Linked DNA regions of Homo sapiens: region 1 is linked to region 2. Evidence: promoter capture Hi-C in human tissues and cell types (Jung and others, 2019). All regions are on one chromosome and are shown on one strand. The core of a region is centred on a gene start or on the middle of the fragment in contact, and the rest is flanking DNA. Distances in the headings are between cores, read along the strand shown.

Evidence for each region. Contacts are between HindIII fragments. The study calls those that stand out against the background at their distance.
Region 1: a contact is called between a fragment that was not itself captured here and the fragment with the promoter of PSMC5 in region 2, in 1 of the 25 tissues and cell types used here (spleen).

Annotation. Positions count from the first base shown.
Region 1 is chr17:62,584,956-62,588,946 of GRCh38, reverse strand. It overlaps TLK2 (tousled like kinase 2), which reads right to left. Exons shown (of 22, transcript NM_006852.6): 16 at 2,721-2,812. Among named protein-coding and RNA genes, the nearest start is that of MRC2, 41 kb to the left of the region's middle. The HindIII fragment of the contact is 4,499 bases long and covers 1-3,586 here.
Region 2 is chr17:63,825,726-63,829,769 of GRCh38, reverse strand. It overlaps PSMC5 (proteasome 26S subunit, ATPase 5), which reads right to left and starts at 2,339. Exons shown (of 12, transcript NM_002805.6): 1 at 2,256-2,339; 2 at 1,561-1,632; 3 at 207-276. The coding sequence starts at 2,279. It overlaps FTSJ3 (FtsJ RNA 2'-O-methyltransferase 3), which reads left to right and starts at 2,107. Exons shown (of 21, transcript NM_017647.4): 1 at 2,107-2,718; 2 at 2,842-2,934; 3 at 3,098-3,203; 4 at 3,466-3,512; 5 at 3,635-3,714. The coding sequence starts at 2,868. RefSeq lists enhancers at 1,949-1,998, 2,379-2,658, 1,795-2,994. The HindIII fragment of the contact is 12,724 bases long and covers 1-4,044 here.

The sequences.
Region 1 (3,991 bases), core at 88-2,587, 1.2 Mb after region 2:
TTATAGCATTTTCATATTTTATAATGTCACAACACTGAAGTGTACTACTTTTTAGTTTAATACTGAATTTTTAAAGCACTCATCAATGTCCGTTATGTGCTTGATGTAAGTCTCCTTTTAGTTCAAAGCAGTTAATGACATTTTGTCAATTCGCCATTTTCTATAGCCTGAAATGCATGAGTATGATTTTATATCACTTAGAAAGCCAATTCTTTCAAAAGAAAGGTGGAGGTACTTAAGAATTGTCTCCTCAGTGCTGCTTCCTGATTGGAAAACAAAACAAAACAAAAAAAAGAACTCCCCCCAGCTGCCCAAGCAAGAATGAAGGTCACAACAACTCACACACCCTCTCCCCAAGGTGTCTGCCAAATAGGAAATGCCCCCTCCTCAGATGAGCTCAGGCACCATGATCCCTCCTCTGATGAGGAAACAGAGTAGAAAGGCACCAATGCCAGCCTGGAACTTGAATGGAAAGAACTTAGACAAATAGGACCATCCCCTTCACGTGCTCTCTGATTCTGTCTGGTAGAGACATATGTGAGAAAACACCCAATCCATACCCACCAGGCCTCAGAGTGCTTGCCAACTGTTTGAAGGAGGGACAAGGCCCGGCTTCCACTCCTCAGTGTTTCAAAAGGCTAGATGGGCAGAACGCCCACCTGCAGTTGCTGTGGTATCCAACACTAGAGCTCTCTGCAAGGTCAGCCAGAAACCTGGATACTGAGACTAGGCAAAATACATATACGTCTCAGCACAGGAGACGTATATGTATAAAAATATGTATATGTATAGATGTATACGTATATTTTATACATATACAGATGTATACGTATATTTTATACATATACAGATGTATACGTATATTTTATACATATACAGATGTATACGTATATTTTATACATATACAGATGTATACGTATATTTTATACATATACAGATGTATACGTATATTTTATACATATACAGATGTATACGTATATTTTATACATATACATCTGTATATGTATAAAAATGCCCTACAGGGCATTTTTAAAGAGAAGCATGTACTGGTCCAACACCCTTAGGCATTCTTAGGGTCTCAATACAGTAGTGGCATTGCTCACTTATAACTGGTCAGAACAACATGTGCTTTCCTTCTCTGAAGTGCTCCTGGCACTCACTACGGTGTGCCACTCATCCCTACATATCAAGTGACTGGAATGTTCTTATAATAATGTAACTGCTCCTCAGGAGCATCTGGACTGCAGCTGCCTGTCACCTAAGAAACACACGCAGGGTGCCACAGGTCATCCCTTCTCCCTCTGCTAAGCCCTGTTGCTCTTAATGTAGCAGGAACCTTCCCTTCTCCAGTGCTGAGCACCACTGCCCATCTGTCTGGAACAGGAAGAACTTCTGGGTCCCTGATGAACAAGAGGTATAGAGCAAGAGTTGCCTTGGACCAGGCTAGAAGCCAACTAAAGGGCTACTTCAAAGACCACTGTTTTTCCCCTTCCAAATTATTATTTATAAAACAAACAAACAAACAAACAAAACACCAAAAAAAACCAAGACTGCCTTTATAGAAAGGAGGTGTTTGCTTTGTCAAAAAAGCCTGTCCCCTCCTTTCAAGGGCAGGACTTGTCTGATTCAATACTTGTACCAACAACAAGGAAACAAAACTAAGCCCAGTGGGGAACCTAATAGCAAATTAAGTCTGCATAGCCTCTAAAGCAAATGAGCCATGAACTCCAACGTTCAGAAGCTTGGGGAGATATAGGCAAAACCTGACATCAGTGGAACAAAGCAATTCACAGCTGTGCATATTGTAACAATTCATTTTAAAGAAGCCCCCCCTCTCTACCCCACATCCCAAGTACAGATGAAGGCTGCCACTAGTACTATTCTATAGAGAAGCAAGCACAGAAGTGGGACCCTGAAGACCAAGAACTTTGAGATGGGCAAACTGTGACCGGGAGGAGAACATAGCACAGAGAGGCTGAACAAGTCAAACAGGTGCCACCAAGACACACCAGGTGCCCCCAGTCTCTTCTAGAAGGAAATGACTGAAGTAGCAGAAACAGCCCACCAGCAGCTCCCTAGGGTCTAGTTTCTATAGACAAGCAACAATTTTTTTTTTTTTTGAGATGCAGTCTCGCACTCGCACCATCACCCAGGCTGGAGTGCAGTGACGTGATCTCGGCTCACTGCAAGCTCTGCCTCCCGAGTTCACGCCATTCTCCTACCTCAGCCTCCCGAGTAGCTGGGACTACAGATGCCTGCCACCACGCCCAACTAATTTTTTGTATTTTTAGTAGAGACGGGGTTTCACCGTGTTAGCCAGGATGGTCTCGATCTCCTGACTTCGTGATCTGCCTGCCTCAGCCTCCCAAAGTGCTGGGATTACAGGTGTGAGCCACCGTGCCCGGCCAGCAAAAATGATTTCTAAGGCTTTATTTACTATAGCTATTTCTAGCCACAAAGGAAGGGAAGGTTAAGAGTACCTAGGGCTTTGGATTCAGGAAAGTCTGGATTTAAATACCAGCTCAGCCACTTCCTGTTACTCCAATTCTGTAAGCATCAGTTTCCTCGTCGTAACACTGAGAATGTATTTATTCTCTCAGGGCAGTTATGAAGATTACATAAAACAAAACCAACAACAATGCACGTAAAGCTTGTAGCATAATGCTCAAACTACAGGTATTATTTAATTTTAAAAAGTCAGACACTCAAGTATCACTTACTTGTGGTAATTCTCCTTTTTCTCATCTCTCCAGTTTTTATTTAACTGGTGAATTTTCACAGCTACGTATCTTTGCTCTGTTAGATCAAATGCCTATAAAGAGAATAAATTATATACTGGGTAAATGTTAAGAAAAATTACAGGTAACTGATGTGAAGCTTTAATTTAACATATAACATAATCAAAGTCCAAAATACATTATTAAATACATCACATACTTATATCAGTGTTGCAAGCACCTTCTTGAAACTTGTGATTAGATAATTTAGAAGTCTCCAGACACACTGGCACCAAGGGATTTAGAACATAAAACCAGGCCAACACCACAAACAGAAAGATAGCCCCTGCCTTCAGAATCATTTCCCAACCATTCTCTTTCTGGACACCATCTATTCCTGTCTGGGACCCGTCTGCCTTAGGTTGTCTCTTATCCTTCAGTTGACACTGGGACTTTACAAGCTTCAAACATCCTGTCACTTTTGAAATTCCAGGGACACACACTGCCTGCCTCCTGGAGAAAATAACCCCTCACAATATACTTCTTTGGTATGATTGTTTACAAAACCACCCTGTAATTTGGCATATTGTTTATTAAAATAAAAAGAGAAACAAGAACAAAAAACAGCCCTGCCTTTAGTCCCATCTCTATATGCTGGGTAAATGAAAAGTGGTTTTGTTGTTGTTGTTTTTGAGACGGAGTCTCGCTCTGTCGCCCAGGCTGGAGTGCAACGGTGCAATCTTGGCTCACTGCAACCTCTGTCTCTCGGGTTCAAGTGATTCTCCTGCCTCAGCTTCCTGAGTAGCTGGGATTACAGGCACGCACCATCACGCCCGGCTAATTTTTGTATTTTTAGTAGAGATGGGGTTTCACCATGTTGGTCAGGCTGGTCTCCTGACCTCAGGCGATCCGCCCCGCTTCGGCCTCCCAAAGTGCTGGGATTACAGGCGTGAGCCACTGCGCCTGGCCGAAAAGCAGTTTCTAATCCCAAAAATGGCTGAAGTTAGTCACCCCAAGTCACTTCTCCAGCACTGTCCAGAGGCAGGAACCAGCTTTCCCCAATGGCCACCACTGCCAGCAAGTCCTGCATCAGCTATGTAGTGCTTGCTATAGCACAGTGAAAAAGGTAACATGGATTTTTGAGGAAGCTGGGTGTAAATCATAATTTGATAAAGTAATCTTTCAATTCAATTGAAGATTTCCCTCCAAACAAAAGAATTTATTGCATAGCTTCTTTAGAATAGTTTTTCTTAGTTTGTAAAGTTTAGATTAAA
Region 2 (4,044 bases), core at 1,090-3,589:
TCACTCTTATTAAAGGAAGGCCAAAGGTCAAAATTCATGTATTTAAGGAGGCTACAATAGGGCTCAGGAAAAAGAGATGCATGTGAAACTACTAGATGATGACAGGGAGAAAACAGTAAGCACTGCTGTGAAGACACAGTGCAGGGAGATAAGGACAGACCTCAGACAAACTGCCCACATGCGGCTTCCCATCTTTCTCCACTCACCTTTAGCATTTAGTTCGTTCCTCTGTGCCTGCAGCCTCCGGAGGTTTTGGCTCTTATCATTCACAATCAGCTGTGGCAGACAAGAGACAAATTCCATTATTCAAGGGCAGGAGACAGGAGGAGGTAGGATCTTGGCCAAGACCTCACAGGTCTGAATGAGCTGAGGGAAGGGCACAGGGCACCTGCATGTTGTTTCAGATTCTCCAGTATGATCCTAATGACCCTGCCCTGTCCTTCAAGAGTCCCTCTGGACCTTACAGCAGCCATCAAAGAAGGCTGCTTGTCCAATACTGGTCCAGGAGTAACAGAATCTAATGGAGAAAAGTTACAGCTGGCTCATGTAACACCAAATTTCTTGCAGGAAGGCAACAACACCTGGTGGAAAGATTGTTAGGTGAGAAACCTGAGTTCTAGCCCAGCCGCTGTCAATCAAAAGCAAAGTAAAGGTAAGACAATCTATTTTTAAAAATCTAGATCTGTTACCAAACGGCACATGGGTATAGCATCAGCTACCCTGCTTCAAGACTACTAAGGTGAACGAATAAAAACACATGAAAAAGCATTCAAAAATGGTAAACTAAACATAATACCTGCAAATGCACTTGGAATTCAGAATTGTCTTTTGTGGCTTTCCCCCATCCAATTTATATTACAGTTGACACTTGAACAACGCAGGGGGTTAGGGTGAAATTGAAAATCCATGGACCTGTCCAAAGTTAAACTACTAACAGCCTACCGTAACAGTATAACGTAACACTAACAGACTACTGTTTATGTTGTCTGTAAGGCTTACTACTGGAAGCCATACCTTACTGCTGGAAGCCTTACTGGTAACACAAACATTTGATTAACAACATAAACGGTCCTTTTTCTATGGTTTAGCGCTTTAGGCTAGGGCTCTGGGTTGCCCAATTTCTTTCATTCAGTCTCTATGGAATTAGCATTGTCCAGATCCCTCAATGATGCCCTTCCTCACATTCTCACTTCACCCTCACCCAACCTCTTGGTGATAAATTTCAACTCCTGAGCTTATGTTTCCCTTTTATAAGAATCCTTTTCATTCGGGCTTCTTCCAAAAGGGTTGACCTTTGGCTAGAGGTACCTTTACTATTAAGATTTGACTCGAAGATGTGTAACAAACTGTGAACACTAAGACCCTCAAAGAGATGGGACTGGAGGAGAACAAGAGATTGCTTACTTCTGATACATACACCCTACTAGCTAAGAAACAAACAAGAAAGGAGAAGCAGCAGCTTCTTCCACTGCACTCCCAAAGGAATTAGATGGATTTGTGGAAGTCCGTTTCCATCCCCCATCATCACCCTTCCTAGCTCCCTCTGGAGTCCGTCCTCACCTGGAGTTCTTCAATCTTGGACAGATAATATTGGCGGAGTCCGCTGCCTGCCTTCCCCTCCTCCAGCTCCATCTGAAGACACAGAGTGAGTCTTAAACGACAGGTTAAACATCCGAGGGGGTAAAGCCACTTGCAGGGCACTTTGAATAAGGCTTGACACCAGGTAGCTTTGCGTAGTAGAAAAAGTTTGGACTTCGGAGGCTCAGGATCTGGGTTCTAATCCCTCCCTCCCTTGGAACCCTCCATTTTCCCAGGACTAAAATAAAAGAATGGGAACGCCGCCTACCTCATACGACTTTTAGGAGGACCGAGAGGCGATATGATATAGACGGGGGGCGCTTTGCACTGCGTGAAGTGCTCTACAAGCCCGAGGTGTCAGTACTGACGAAGGAGCCAGCGGAACGGAGCCAAAGGACTGGCGTCCCGTCTCCTGCGACCCGTGGGCCGGCCATTCCCGCGCCCATCGCTTCCCTCACTCACTCCGCTTCTACCGCGTCTTCCTCTCCCAGCCTTGCCCTGACTCACCGAGGGCGGCGCTGACACAGCAGATCCGGTCGCAGGCAGCGTCCAGCATGGACTGGTCCAGGCACCTCCGACCCACCCGACGCTCCTGCCCCGGCCCGCTCTCCACTCAGATCACGCTCGCTCCGCACCCAGCCCCGTAACCTGCCGGGCCGCCACTGCACCCGCCATACCTGCTCTGGTCCGTCAAGCGCCATCTTCTCTCTTCAGCAGAGACCGCCGGCATCCGAGCCGTCTTGGCGCGCAAGCGCGGAAGCGGAGGATTGGGACCTGAAGACCAGGCAGAGAAGAATTCCGGGTCAATGGGCGGGGTGTGCGGCGAGACCACACTAAGGGAACCATGATGGGAGGGGCGGCTACTCGAGTTCAGGGGCTTTGGAAGGGGATGAGGAAGGAGTAGAACTCCTCCTCAGTGTTGCCTCATTGAAACTCTGTTTATAGTTCTTGTGATATGCCTTCCTAGTCTCAACTTTCAACTTACAAAACCCAAGGACAGAGTATTGAGAACAATCTAGGGCCACACTCAAAATGGCGGAAAACCTCGAGCCAGGGACGCAGGGGACGCAAGCGGAAGCGGAAGTAGTTAGCTGCATACTTGTGCGGTTCCAAGTGTGGAGAAAGCGGCTCTGGGTCTAGGTAGTGTGCGGAGAGGGGCGCGGGGTGGAATTGCTGCGGGAAGTGGGAAACTGGAAGTGGGAAACTGGAAGTGGAATCTGGTGCTCCGGAAAGAGACGTTCCCAACTTCTACTTTCTCCCCAGATTGAGGGATACTCCCCCTTTCCACCATGGGCAAGAAGGGCAAAGTTGGCAAGAGCCGACGAGACAAGTTTTATCACTTGGCGAAGGAGACGGGTGAGTCCGGATTCGCTCAGTCTGCGAGCGAGCGAGCGATCTCTGCCCGGTTCGCCTGCTCTTTGCGACCATTATGTACCTCTCCTGCAGAAGGGGTGGTCGGTTGCGAGGCCGGAGAAATCCTACTAGTGAAGCAGTTTGCGCACTTGGTTGTTTTGTCCAGGTTACCGTTCCCGATCTGCTTTCAAGCTGATCCAGCTCAATCGCCGCTTTCAGTTCCTGCAGAAAGCCCGAGCCTTGCTGGACCTGTGTGCTGCGCCAGGGGGATGGTTCGTAACACTCGCCACAGGTTGCTCCTGGTGGCCGCTTTCTGGGTTCTGAGCTGGGATGGCTTCCAGTTTCACTGCGGGAGGGGAACCCGAATCCCGGTCCTCTTGGGGGCCGTTTCCTTTCTTGATTGCAGAGAAAGGGCTTGGAATACGTGCCTATGATATGCTTTGGCCAGTACACGTAACACCAGGGATGAGAGATCAGTTGCCAAGAGGGGGAAAAGGATGGCTCTAGGTTTTTAAATTTCTGTTCCTTTTATAGGCTGCAGGTAGCTGCCAAGTTTATGCCTGTATCCAGCCTTATTGTGGGTGAGTAACGGACAGCTCTCCTTGGTGTTTTAAGGGGTGGGTGTATAAGGTATTTTGTCCTGTATTTCTCTCCTCCCTGCTTGAAGCAACCTTTTAGAATACTCTGACCTGATTTCTTCCAGGAGTGGACCTGGTTCCAATCAAGCCTCTCCCCAATGTGGTGACTCTCCAGCAGGACATCACAACAGAACGTTGTAGGCAGGTAATAGGAGTCTCTCTCTTCCTTCCCCCTTTATACGGAAACATCTACATCCCTGAAATCCTCTAAAGGCAAGTTTTTCCTTTTTACCGTGCTTTGAGCACGTTCTTGCCTGACATCTGTACGACAAGACCTATGGCATTCGTAGTGTCCACTCCAGGCTTTATTTAGAGTCAGGGATAAAGGTGTTTGGAATTGGGAGAAGGGCAGAGATCTTTAGTGAAGTCTTCTCCTGTGAATTCAGTGTCAGACTGTAATCTCCATGAAGGTAGAGACATACTGTTTTTGTTTACTATTGTATCTCCTGTGCCTGGTACTGCATTTGGCCCATGA